2 separate regions of the Homo sapiens genome follow, and region 2 is linked to region 1. Evidence: promoter capture Hi-C in human tissues and cell types (Jung and others, 2019). All regions are on one chromosome and are shown on one strand. Each heading gives the region's core, a stretch centred on a gene start or on the middle of the fragment in contact. The rest is flanking DNA. Distances are from core to core; before and after follow the strand shown. Region 1 holds the start of FREM2 (FRAS1 related extracellular matrix 2). Region 2 overlaps FREM2 (FRAS1 related extracellular matrix 2).

Region 1 (6,276 bases), core at 825-3,324:
AAGGCCACTTTGCTTCCAGATGACATTTTTCAATACAAACACACAACCAGAATTTGAAATTTACTATAAAAAGAGCCATATTCTGAAATTGGTTTTCTAGTTTACTTGGCATCTTATTTGTTTTAATTTGGAACAGGAAATAGCAGAATTTCCCCCCATGTTCCGCATTTTGAATTCTGTATGCGATAATAAATAATCATATAAATTATAAAATAATAATGACAAAGCAAATAGGAAATTGGTAAAGAGTTAGATGGGGGATTTTCTAATGTATTTAAAGTAAGGGCCACATCCCTTCTATGCTCCTGGATGCCCATTTTGTAATAAATTGTGAAATGTATCCATCAGTTTCTAAGTTGTAGTTAAAAGCTCCTCAAACAATGCACAGCACACAGAATAATCTTAATTAATATTTAATTAACTAAATGTTACTTGTTTGCGTGCTTGCACACTTGCTTGGATGAGTGACTCCTTTAAATTGATCTCTTGCTTCTTTTTGAAAGATTTTAGAACTTCCTGTCTATGATTCCTGGAAACGGACACCACTCAGTAGGTTTCATGGAAAGGAATCTGGCATCTCCCAGCCATACTTATGTACAGAGTTTGTGCTGCAGCCTGGAAAATAGCTGTAACTGTGTCAAGCAAGGATCAAAATCCTGGTCTGGAGGAGCTCAAGCTGAAAACACAAAGGCTTAAAAGGATAGGCACTTCTTACTGAAATTACTCCCATAGGCACCTTCTAGCTTCAATTTAGACTGAAATGTAAAAAGACATTAACAATTTCTTATATTTCCCTCTTTTCCAAATTCAAAATCCCTTGGAGCAGGAAAAGGGCAATTATGGCTAATTATGACTATTACTCCAATTCTATGCTCCTGTTAGCAATCAGATTTGCATTACTGGAGAAAAAAAATATTATCCTAAATAAAACATTCTGACTATGATTGCTTAGGAGCCAATCCGAAAATGATTAAGTTTAAATTACAAGGGATCTTTTTTGAGGGGGGGAGGAGAGTTGATAAAAAAACCTTTTAGAAAGGGAATCTACACACTACTAAAACCAAACAAACACAAGGGGGCAGGAAGAGCTCAAGCTCTGACTTCAAAACCTGTTGGCTGAAATGAGAGCTAAACTATTTTAGTGTGCCCTCCGGATATTTATCAATTTTCGTGGCATGCAAAGAAATGTGATGCTGACAAGTAGATTTAGTTTGTGCTTGGTCTAATTACTGCGAAGAGAACAGGAACGTCTCTAATGACAGCTACCCTAACAGAGTCGGATTTGGGAGCGCCTGGGGCCACATTCCCTAGAATTTATTCTTTGGTGCAAGACTAGCAATTCTGATCAGACTGCATTTCTCACGCATTCCAAATGCCCTTTTTCCCTTTTACTCTGTGAACCTCGGTTGCAAAGGAGGGGCTTGTTAAAAACTCACCAATCGGAGGACTGTGCCCATTGTAATTCACGAGGAGAAGGCAGCGTCTGGGCGCGCCGAAGGGGGCTGGGCTGGAGTGCAACCTGCTCTAGCTATGGCTTTTAATTCCAGCTGTCCTTTTGCAAATATGCCCCAGAATTTCTTCTCAAACGCTCTGGGTTTCGCTTCAAACTCAAAAAGCATTGCGTCTAACTTTCCCCTGGGTTTGCAAGTTTCCTTGGGAAATGGCCATGCCCTGCGCGGGATTTCATTGACTAGGGCGGAGGGGTGGGGGTGGCTAAAATGGGTAACCCTCGGTCGCCGGCAGATGAAGTGAACCCAGCACAGCAGTGTGTTCCGGCTCCTCTGCAGGAGTACCAGATCTATTAATAGCAGCCCAGAGAGTAGCGCAAGCAGGGGTGGGCAACTCCTGGCCACTTCTTCCCTCACTTCCAGGACAACCTGTTGCGCCTCTATCTCCTCCCCTCCCCGCAGTTTCCCCGCCTTGGCCTCTAAGAGCTGATTGGCAGAAATTACTACCCAACCCTCAGCTCCGCACCTCCTCCCCCGACCAACGATTGGCCACCTGGGAGGACTGGAGTAAGGGGTGCGAGCGGAGGGATTTCCCTCAAAGCCCAGGGTCCGGGGACCTGGAAAGTAGAAGTGGAGGGATTCAATTCTCCGCGCGATTGAGGCGCTAGCGGCGGAGCTGGACGGCCTGGGAAGGCTTCGGCTCCTCGGCTGCGGCTCCAGCCCGGACGGCGCCGCGCAACTTTGCCATCCTTCTGGCCCAGCCCCGGCTACAGGAGGACCCCGCGGGCAACGCGCGGAGTTCCTGGCACTTCCCGGCGGTGTCTCTTGTTGTCTGCCCGGGGACCGACTTCGCATGCTCTCAGGCTGACCTGTCCAAGCCCGAACACCGGGACCATGCACTCAGCCGGGACTCCCGGGTTATCCTCGCGCCGGACAGGCAACTCCACCAGCTTTCAACCAGGACCGCCACCGCCGCCCCGGCTGCTGCTGCTGCTGCTGCTTCTCCTGTCACTGGTAAGCCGCGTCCCGGCACAGCCCGCTGCCTTCGGCAGGGCGTTGCTGTCCCCTGGTCTCGCGGGGGCTGCAGGGGTCCCTGCTGAGGAGGCCATAGTGCTGGCGAACCGCGGACTCCGGGTGCCTTTCGGCCGTGAAGTCTGGCTGGATCCCCTGCATGACCTGGTGTTGCAGGTGCAGCCCGGGGACCGCTGCGCGGTTTCGGTACTAGACAACGACGCACTGGCCCAGCGACCGGGCCGCCTGAGTCCCAAGCGCTTCCCGTGCGACTTTGGCCCTGGCGAGGTGCGCTACTCTCACCTGGGCGCGCGCAGCCCGTCTCGGGACCGCGTCCGGCTGCAGCTGCGCTATGACGCGCCCGGAGGGGCAGTAGTGCTACCACTGGTACTGGAGGTGGAGGTGGTCTTCACCCAGCTGGAGGTTGTGACTCGGAACTTGCCTCTGGTCGTGGAAGAGCTGCTGGGGACCAGCAATGCCCTGGACGCGCGGAGCCTGGAGTTCGCCTTCCAGCCCGAGACAGAGGAGTGCCGCGTGGGCATCCTGTCCGGCTTGGGCGCGCTGCCTCGCTATGGAGAACTCCTCCACTACCCGCAGGTCCCTGGAGGAGCCAGAGAGGGAGGCGCCCCGGAGACTCTCCTGATGGACTGCAAAGCTTTCCAGGAACTAGGCGTGCGCTATCGCCACACAGCCGCCAGTCGCTCACCAAACAGGGACTGGATACCCATGGTGGTGGAGCTGCGTTCACGAGGGGCTCCTGTGGGCAGCCCTGCTTTGAAACGCGAGCACTTCCAGGTTCTGGTGAGGATCCGAGGAGGGGCCGAGAACACTGCACCCAAGCCCAGTTTCGTGGCCATGATGATGATGGAGGTGGACCAGTTTGTACTGACGGCCCTGACCCCAGACATGCTGGCAGCCGAGGATGCTGAGTCTCCCTCTGACCTGTTGATCTTCAACCTTACTTCTCCATTCCAGCCTGGCCAGGGCTACTTGGTGAGCACCGATGATCGCAGCCTGCCCCTTTCCTCCTTCACTCAGAGGGATCTGCGGCTCCTGAAGATTGCCTACCAGCCCCCTTCTGAAGACTCTGACCAGGAGCGCCTCTTTGAACTGGAATTGGAGGTAGTGGATCTAGAAGGAGCAGCTTCAGACCCTTTTGCCTTCATGGTAGTGGTGAAGCCCATGAACACAATGGCTCCGGTGGTCACCCGGAATACCGGTCTTATTCTCTATGAGGGTCAGTCTCGGCCCCTCACAGGCCCTGCAGGCAGTGGTCCGCAAAACTTGGTCATCAGCGATGAGGATGACCTAGAAGCAGTGCGGCTAGAGGTGGTGGCTGGGCTCCGGCATGGTCACCTTGTCATTCTGGGTGCTTCCAGTGGCAGCTCTGCTCCCAAGAGCTTTACAGTGGCTGAGCTGGCAGCCGGCCAGGTGGTCTACCAGCATGATGACAGAGACGGCTCGCTGAGCGACAACCTGGTGCTTCGCATGGTGGATGGAGGAGGCAGGCACCAGGTACAGTTTCTGTTCCCCATCACCTTAGTGCCTGTGGATGACCAGCCACCTGTTCTCAATGCCAACACGGGGCTGACACTGGCAGAGGGTGAAACAGTGCCCATCCTGCCCCTTTCCCTGAGTGCAACTGACATGGATTCAGATGATTCTCTGCTGCTTTTTGTGCTGGAGTCACCCTTCTTAACTACGGGGCATCTGCTTCTCCGCCAAACTCACCCTCCCCATGAGAAGCAGGAACTTCTCAGAGGCCTTTGGAGGAAGGAGGGGGCATTTTATGAGCGAACAGTGACAGAGTGGCAGCAGCAGGACATAACAGAGGGCAGGCTGTTCTATAGACACTCTGGGCCCCATAGTCCTGGGCCAGTCACAGACCAGTTCACATTTAGAGTCCAGGATAACCATGACCCTCCTAATCAGTCCGGGCTACAGCGGTTTGTGATTCGTATCCATCCTGTGGATCGCCTCCCTCCGGAGCTGGGCAGTGGCTGTCCCCTTCGTATGGTGGTACAGGAATCCCAGCTCACACCACTGAGGAAGAAGTGGCTGCGCTACACTGACCTGGACACAGATGACCGAGAACTACGTTACACAGTGACTCAGCCCCCCACAGACACAGACGAAAATCACCTGCCAGCCCCACTGGGTACCTTGGTCTTGACTGACAACCCCTCAGTCGTGGTGACCCATTTTACCCAAGCCCAGATCAACCATCATAAAATTGCTTACAGACCCCCGGGTCAAGAACTGGGCGTGGCTACTCGAGTGGCCCAGTTCCAGTTCCAGGTGGAAGACCGAGCTGGGAATGTGGCTCCAGGTACCTTTACCCTTTACTTGCATCCCGTGGACAACCAGCCACCTGAGATCCTCAACACCGGCTTCACTATTCAGGAGAAGGGTCACCACATCCTGAGTGAGACAGAGTTGCACGTGAATGATGTAGACACTGATGTTGCCCATATCTCTTTCACTCTCACTCAGGCACCCAAACATGGCCACATGAGAGTGTCTGGACAGATCCTGCATGTAGGGGGTCTCTTCCACTTGGAGGACATAAAACAGGGCCGAGTTTCCTATGCCCATAATGGGGACAAGTCCCTGACTGATAGCTGCTCCTTGGAAGTCAGTGACAGACATCATGTGGTGCCCATCACTCTCAGAGTAAATGTCCGGCCAGTGGATGATGAAGTGCCCATACTGAGCCATCCTACTGGCACTCTGGAGTCCTATCTAGATGTCTTAGAAAATGGGGCTACTGAAATCACTGCCAATGTTATTAAGGGGACCAATGAGGAAACTGATGACTTGATGTTGACTTTCCTCTTGGAAGATCCACCTTTGTATGGGGAAATCTTGGTCAATGGCATTCCAGCAGAGCAGTTTACTCAAAGGGACATCTTGGAGGGCTCTGTTGTATATACCCACACCAGTGGTGAGATAGGCCTATTGCCTAAAGCGGATTCTTTTAACCTGAGTCTGTCAGATATGTCTCAAGAATGGAGAATTGGTGGCAATACTATCCAAGGAGTTACTATATGGGTGACCATCCTGCCTGTTGATAGCCAGGCCCCAGAAATCTTTGTAGGTGAACAGTTGATAGTAATGGAAGGTGATAAAAGTGTTATAACATCAGTGCATATAAGTGCTGAAGATGTCGACTCCCTGAATGATGACATCTTGTGCACTATAGTTATTCAGCCTACTTCAGGTTATGTTGAAAACATTTCTCCAGCACCAGGCTCTGAGAAATCAAGAGCAGGGATTGCCATAAGTGCTTTCAACTTGAAAGATCTCAGGCAGGGCCACATAAACTATGTCCAGAGTGTCCATAAAGGGGTGGAACCTGTGGAGGACCGATTTGTATTTCGTTGTTCTGATGGCATTAACTTTTCAGAGAGACAGTTCTTCCCCATTGTAATCATTCCCACCAATGATGAACAGCCAGAGATGTTTATGAGAGAATTTATGGTGATGGAAGGCATGAGTCTGGTAATTGATACACCCATTCTCAATGCTGCTGATGCTGATGTTCCCCTGGATGATTTAACTTTCACTATTACCCAATTCCCCACTCATGGTCACATCATGAATCAGCTGATAAATGGCACGGTTTTGGTCGAAAGCTTCACCTTGGATCAGATCATAGAGAGTTCCAGCATTATTTATGAGCATGATGACTCCGAGACCCAGGAAGACAGTTTTGTGATTAAACTAACAGATGGGAAGCACTCTGTGGAAAAGACGGTCCTCATTATAGTTATCCCTGTTGATGATGAGACGCCCAGAATGACTATCAATAATGGAC
Region 2 (6,902 bases), core at 2,444-4,943, 130 kb after region 1:
ATGAATTGTTTTTATTTCATTGCGTTGTTTTACTGGGTTCCTTGTATCTGGCTGTTTCCTTAAGATCATTGTTTTGAAATTTTCAGGCATTTTGTACATGCCTTTTTCTTTGGTTTCTCTTACTAGAGAAATGTTTTGTTCCCTTGTAGAAGGCAAGAAACAAATCTCAGAATAGAAAAGAAATGGAAGCTAAAAAAATTCAGAAGATCAACAAAATGAAGAGTTAATTTCTTGAAACAATAACAAACTTGAAAAACCTTTAGCTAGACTAAGAAATAAAAGAAGACAAAATTAGATATTAAACAAGAGACATTACAACTGATACCACAGAAATACAAAGGATGATGAGAGGCTGCTTTAAACAACTATATGCCAACAAATTTGATAACATAGTCCATTTGAGATTACCCGAGGCTGGGTAATTTATAAGGATACGAGGACTATTTGGCACACAGTTCTGCAGGTACAAAAAAGCATGGTGCTAGCACCTGTTCAGTTTTTGATGAGGGACTCAGGCTGCTTTCACTCATGGCAGAAGGTAAAGAGGAGCCAGAAGGTGCAAGATCCCATAGTGAGAGATCCCAAGCTTTTTAACAACCAGCTTTGGGGAGAACTAATAAAATGAGAACTCACTTACATCCACCAAGGGAGGACATTAATCTATTTATGAGGGATCTGTACCCATAACCCAAACACTTCCCATAGACCCCACCTCTGATATTGAAACCAAATTTCAACATGAGATTTGGTGGGGACAAACAAACCATATCCAAACTACAGTAGAAGAAATGGATAAATTCCTGGACACATACAACCTGTCAAGATTGAACCATGAAGAAATAGAAAATCTGAGCAGGTCAGTAATGACTGAGGACATTGAATCAGTAATAAAAAGTCCTCCATCAAAGAAGAGCTCAGGACTGGACAGATTCCCAGCTGAATTCTACCAAACATTTAATAAAGAACTAATACCAATTCTTCTCAAACTATTCCAAAAAATTGAAGAGGAAGGAATACTTCCAAAGTTATCTTACGAGGCTGGAATTACCCTGATTTCAAAATCAAACAATCACATAACAACAAAGAAAAACTACAGGTTAGGATCTCCAGTGAACATAGATGTGAAAATTCTTAACGAGATGCTAGCAAACTGAATCCAACAGCATATTAAACAAATCATTCACTGTGGTCAAGTGGAGTTTATTCCAGAGATGCATGGATGGTTTAACATTTGCAAACCAATAAATGTGATATGCACATTAACGGAAAGAATTATTTTTTAAAATATCATTTCAATAGAGGCAGAAAAAGCATTTGATAAAAATTTACTATCATGATTAAAACGCTCAAGAAATTAGATTCACATGGTACTTACCTCAATGCAGTAACAGCCATATATGACAAACACACAGCTAACATCATACAGAGTGAGGAAAAATTGTAAGCTTTTCCTGTAAGGTCAGGAACTAGACAAAGATGCCCGCTTTTACCATTTCTATTTAATGTAGTAAATGAAGACCTAGCCGGAGCAATTAGGCAAGAGAAAGAAATAAAAGGCATTCAAATTTGAAAGGAGGAAGCTAAGTGCCCTGTTTGCAGATGACATGATCTTATATATAGAAAACCTTAAAGACTCCATTGAAAAACAGAACTAATAAACAAACTCAGTAAAGTCGCAGTATACAAAGTAAACATACAAAAATCAGTAGCATTTCTATATGCTCTTAGTGAACTATCTGAAAAAGAAATCAAGAAAACAGTTTCATTTACAATAGCTACAAAAAAGATACCTAGTAATAAATTTAGTCAAGGAGGTGAAAAATCTTTATACTGAGGCTATAAAACTTTGATGAAAGAAATGTAAAATAATACAAATACATGGAAAGATATCCTATATTTGTGGATTGTAAGAATTAATGTCATAAAATGGCCAAACTACTCAAAGCGATGTACAGATTAATGCAATTCCTATCAAAATGCCAATGGCATTCTTCACAAAAATAGAAATAAACAATTCTAAAATTTATCTAGAACAAAAGACCCAAAACAACCAAAGCAATCCTGTGCAAAAAGAACAAAGCTGGAAGCTTCATACTACCTCACTTCAAAATATACTACAAAGCTATAGTAAGTACAGAACAACATGGTGCTGGCATGAAAAACAGACACATAGACCAATGGAATAGAATATAGAACCCAGAAGTAAATTTACACACCTACAACCAACTGATTTTCAACAAATGTACCAAAAATACATGTTGGGGAAAAGACAATCTTTTCAATAAATGGTATTGGGAAAATTAGTTTATCTACGTGCAGAAGAATGAAACTAGATCCCTACCTCTCACTATATATAAAAATCAACTCAAAATGGATTAAGGATCTTAGTGTAAAATCTGAAGCTAACAGAAGAAAACATAGGAGAAACACATCAGAGCATTGGGCTGGGCAAGGACTTTTTAGATAAGACTTCAAAAGGATAGTCAACAAAAGGAAAAATAGGCATATAGGATTATATCAAACTAAAAAGCTTTTCCATAGCAACAGAAACTGTTAAGAGAGTGAAGAGACAACCTACAGAATGGGAGAAAATATTTGCAAACTATAGATGCGAAAACGGGTTAATATCTAGAATATATAAGGGACATAATAGCAAAACAACAATAACAATATTAATCAAAAATGGGCAAAAGGCCATTTTTCAAAATAAGACATACAAATGACAAACAGGTATATAAAAAATGTTCAACATTGCTAACCATCAGAGAAACACAAACCAAAACCAAAATAAGATACCATCTCACTTCAGTTAGAATGGCTATTATAAAAAAAGACAAGTGTTGGTGAGAATGTGGAGAAAAGGGAACACTGACGTACTGTTGGTGAGGTTGTAAGCTAGTACAGCCATTATGGAATACAGTATGGCGGTTCCTCAATTAACTAGAAATAGGATTCCCATATTATTCAGCAATCCCACAGTTGAGTATTTACTGAAAATATTTGAAATCCATATGTTGAAGAGGTATCTGCATGCCCATGTTTATTGCAGCACTATTTACAATAGCTAAGATATGGACTCAACCTAAGTATTCAACAATGGATGAATAGATGAAAAAATGTGGTATAAAAACCCAACAGAATACTATACAGTCATAAAACATAATGAAATCCTATCATTTGAGACAACATGGGTGAACCTGGAGGACACCATGTTAAGTGAAATAAGCCAGACACAGAAAGACAAATACCACATGATGTCACTCATATGTGGAATCTACAAAGGAAAAAAAGTTGATATCATTGAAGCAGAGAATAGAACTGTGGTTATCAGAGATTGGGAAAAGGAGAAAGGAGAGGTAGATGGAGAAAGGTTGATTAATAGGTACATGTTACAATTACATAGAAGGAATAAATTCCAGTGTTCTATTGCACAGTAGTGTGACTATGGTTAACAATAAAATATTATATATTATAAAAAAGCTGACTGGACATGATGGCTCATGCCTGTAATCCCAGCACTTTGGGAGGTTGAGGCAGGTGGATCACCTGAGATCAGGAGTTTGAGACCAGCCTGGCCAACATAGTGAAACCCCGTCTTTACTAAAAATACAAAAATTAGTGGGGCAGAGGTTGCAGTGAGCCAAGATCGCACCACTACACTCTAGTCTGGGCAACAGAGCAAGCCTCCGTCTCAAAAAAAAAATGCTAGAAGAAAGGCTTTTGAGTGTTCTCATCACAAAGAGATAATGCATGATGTGCTGGATATACTAACTACCCTTATTGTGTCATTATACAATACAGAAATATATCAAAACATCAAGTTGCACCTCATAAATATGGGAAATTACAGAGTGTCAATTAAAAAACAAATTTAAAAACAAAGAAGAAGGCAAATGAGCAAAGATCAGAGACTGCTGTAGTGGGTTTGTTAGCAATAGGAGTCCATTTGACTCAACCTGTTATGGCCAGAACCTCCAAAGGCCCTGGCTGCTATGCTGCTGTGCGCTTGCCTGGTCTTTTTGAAACTGTTGATACAATGCACTGCTCACCACAGGAAAAGCATTAAAGAGCTTTGTTCCACTGCACACACACAAGCTTGGCAAGCAGCCACTTGAATTTCTCCTGCTAGTCACATAAAAACATTTCACCACCATTACCAGAAAAGGCAAAGGCTCCAAACTTCTTTATGAGAAAAACTAACCATTTTGTATAATTTACACTGAAGAATGACCTTTCTCCCCACAAGAAAGTGAGCACAGGGAGCTGTGGCAGGACATAGGGCTGGTTCACCCAGAAATGAGCCCTCAAATTCATGGAGTGTAAATTTACAGATATGTAGTCTGCTAGAGTGGTTTTAGGATATCAAGGTTGTGGTACCGATTAGGATCATGCTGTTCACAATATTAAATTAACTTATGTCTTTATTTTTTAGGGCTTTGTAGATATCATATATTTTTATATAATCATAGCTATCATGAACACCTTCCAAGATGTGCTAAATCTTTTACCTGAATTATTTAATACACATATGCACATACACAAATTATGAGCCAAGTTTTATTATGCCTGGGTTTTATCATCTGTGAGTGGTTGGATAACTTGCCCAAGGTCAAACAGCCGGTAAGCATTTAGCCAGCCTGACTAAAGAGACTATGGCATTAACAACTACGCAGCACACTTCATATTATACTAGCAGTAAGTATATTTAATATACACAATGACCTTCTGATTCTACAATGTAATACTCAAAGTTATTATTAGTTATCCTAATAGGGAAGTTTACAAGATGAAACAAGCTATATATACTTTTATAGACATATAGCACCTGAATATTGATAATTGAAATGTCATAGATAATAGAATAACTTGTAAATGAACTATTCTTGTTGATCTTTTATCAATTATAACTCCCCTTGGATCTTTAGCAAAGCTTATTAGTGCAGTCTCAATCTGGTACTTCAATTGGACAAGGAATAGCACTGCTTTTTCCACATCATCTAGCAAATGACCCGGTGAAAATGGTTGCCTTTCTGAAAGATTGCATTTTGGCTCTCTTGTCAAGTCCTCGTGGATAAATATTGTCTTGAGTTTGTTTTGTCTTTTTCCCAGTAACACTATCTGCCTGATTCCCATCTCTTCCAAACAGAAAAGTGAATGCTGGCCATGCAATACTATCTTACAGACATCAAAGAATACATATTTCTGATTTATTACCACTAAAACCCTGGAAGCAGTTTACTAAACATTTATAGGAACCTCAAGATCTCAGTCACAGAAAATTCCATTTTAGTGTTAAAAATCACATAAATCTGAGAAGCAGCTTCTCAGATACTAGACTTCAGAATTTGTAAATTTAAAACTATTAAAATGAATTTTATAATAAAAACCAATAAAATACACAAAAAGTTGATTAAATGGAAAAGATCTCTTACTAGATACTATTGTTGTGATCAAAAAGTCCTAATTATTTGCTGGCCAGAGAGGTCTGGCATATCTTTTTATTGAAATCATAAAACATACAGAAAATGCTGAAAAGCCAAACATGGCAACTTGGCTGAAAACAGAGCACTTCAAAGTCTTGGCCTGCATGCCTCAGTGATGTAAAGAGAGGCCAGCATCTGTGAAATGCTGCCATGGACTTGCAGGGCTATGATTATTTTAAGTCTAGAAAATGCACTATGCACCTATGGTCTACTGTTGAAAACATGTACCTCCATTACTAAACAGACAGCAGCATCTCCACGTATGGTATTAGAATGAAATATTAAGAAAACATTTTGTAATAGATGTACTATTTTCTGACATTGGTGGATATACCAGTGGTCACTGTAGAGATGTGAAACTTGCTAGTTTGCTTCTTTATAAAACCAGAAGTAGTTGTCTCATTAGGAGTCCTTATGGTGTCCCTATGTTCTCTGTGAACCTTCCTTCTCTTTGTAGATAAATGTTACCTTTCAGAGGGAACAGATAGGTGTTATGTTTTCCTTGAGAAATAGGCCTTCATCCTGTCTGACTGGACATCAGATCTTCTTTTCCCTGATTTATTCCTGTGTTGTAAATCTTATACATTTTTTTTTTGTAATTGGCCTAAAATCTTCCTTAAATTATGTAGAGAACCTTACACTGACCTAGAAAGATACAAGATTGCCCAGTCAAATATAGTGCTATTGTTATTTGACAAACAGTAAAGTATGTGACAAATAATCACAATAATAATTTATATTGAAATTTTAAACATATAGCTAAAACTAAAAATGCCTTCTTTCTCTAGGCCATTTGTAACCATTTGAAGCACTTAAAATGATGGATGAAGCTTTTCCTTCATACTACTGGAGAAATAAATCATCTTTTTTTCTCTTTTTTCTAAGAAACAGGTCTTTTTTCTGTCTCTCTGAAACAGGCGTTTGAAATAATTTGAATTCACACATTTATTCATTTAAAACACACACCTAACATCTCTCATGTTTCCAGATGCTGTGCGAGGGTAGAGGGCATAAGGATTTGTCCTGGCCTCACTTCACGTGCTTATAGGCCCCTGCTAAGTGGCGGGCAGTCTCCAGGACATTAAGGACACAGTGGTGAAAGACACTAGCCCAATCTATAGAGAACTTCGAGACGGAAATAGACAAACAGCTCCAACAAGGCAAAGGGTAAGTCCAGGCTCCCCATGCAGTGACGGCTTTCAGAAGGTTCTCTCACTTGGCCTCAGGCTCCCGGAAGGCCAGTTCTCTTCCACACAAAGAATGGAGGAGTCTGAATCATTGAGTGGGCAGCCAGTAAACTGATGCTCAGAGTCACGTGTCTTTTTAGGCTGTGACAGTCTCTCCATTGTGAAGACAACTGCACTATTTGGGATGAGCCAAGTTACAGTACAATTCAGCAGTTCCTGAGTTTAAACACAT

The links. The method cuts DNA at HindIII sites, captures the fragments that hold promoters and counts their contacts. A contact is called where the count stands out against the background at its distance.
Region 2: a contact is called between a fragment that was not itself captured here and the fragment with the promoter of FREM2 in region 1, in 2 of the 25 tissues and cell types used here (aorta and dorsolateral prefrontal cortex).

The regions. Positions count from the first base shown.
Region 1 is chr13:38,685,003-38,691,278 of GRCh38, forward strand. FREM2 (FRAS1 related extracellular matrix 2) reads left to right here and starts at 2,075. Exons shown (of 24, transcript NM_207361.6): 1 at 2,075-6,276. The coding sequence starts at 2,343. LINC00437 (long intergenic non-protein coding RNA 437) reads right to left here and starts at 1,673. Exons shown (of 3, transcript NR_126377.1): 1 at 1,437-1,673. The HindIII fragment of the contact is 7,279 bases long and covers 1-4,604 here.
Region 2 is chr13:38,815,199-38,822,100 of GRCh38, forward strand. All of the region lies in intron 6 of FREM2 (FRAS1 related extracellular matrix 2), which reads left to right. FREM2-AS1 (FREM2 antisense RNA 1) reads right to left here. Exons shown (of 2, transcript NR_146963.1): 2 at 6,486-6,902. Among named protein-coding and RNA genes, the nearest start is that of FREM2-AS1, 8.9 kb to the right of the region's middle. The HindIII fragment of the contact is 3,855 bases long and covers 1,767-5,621 here.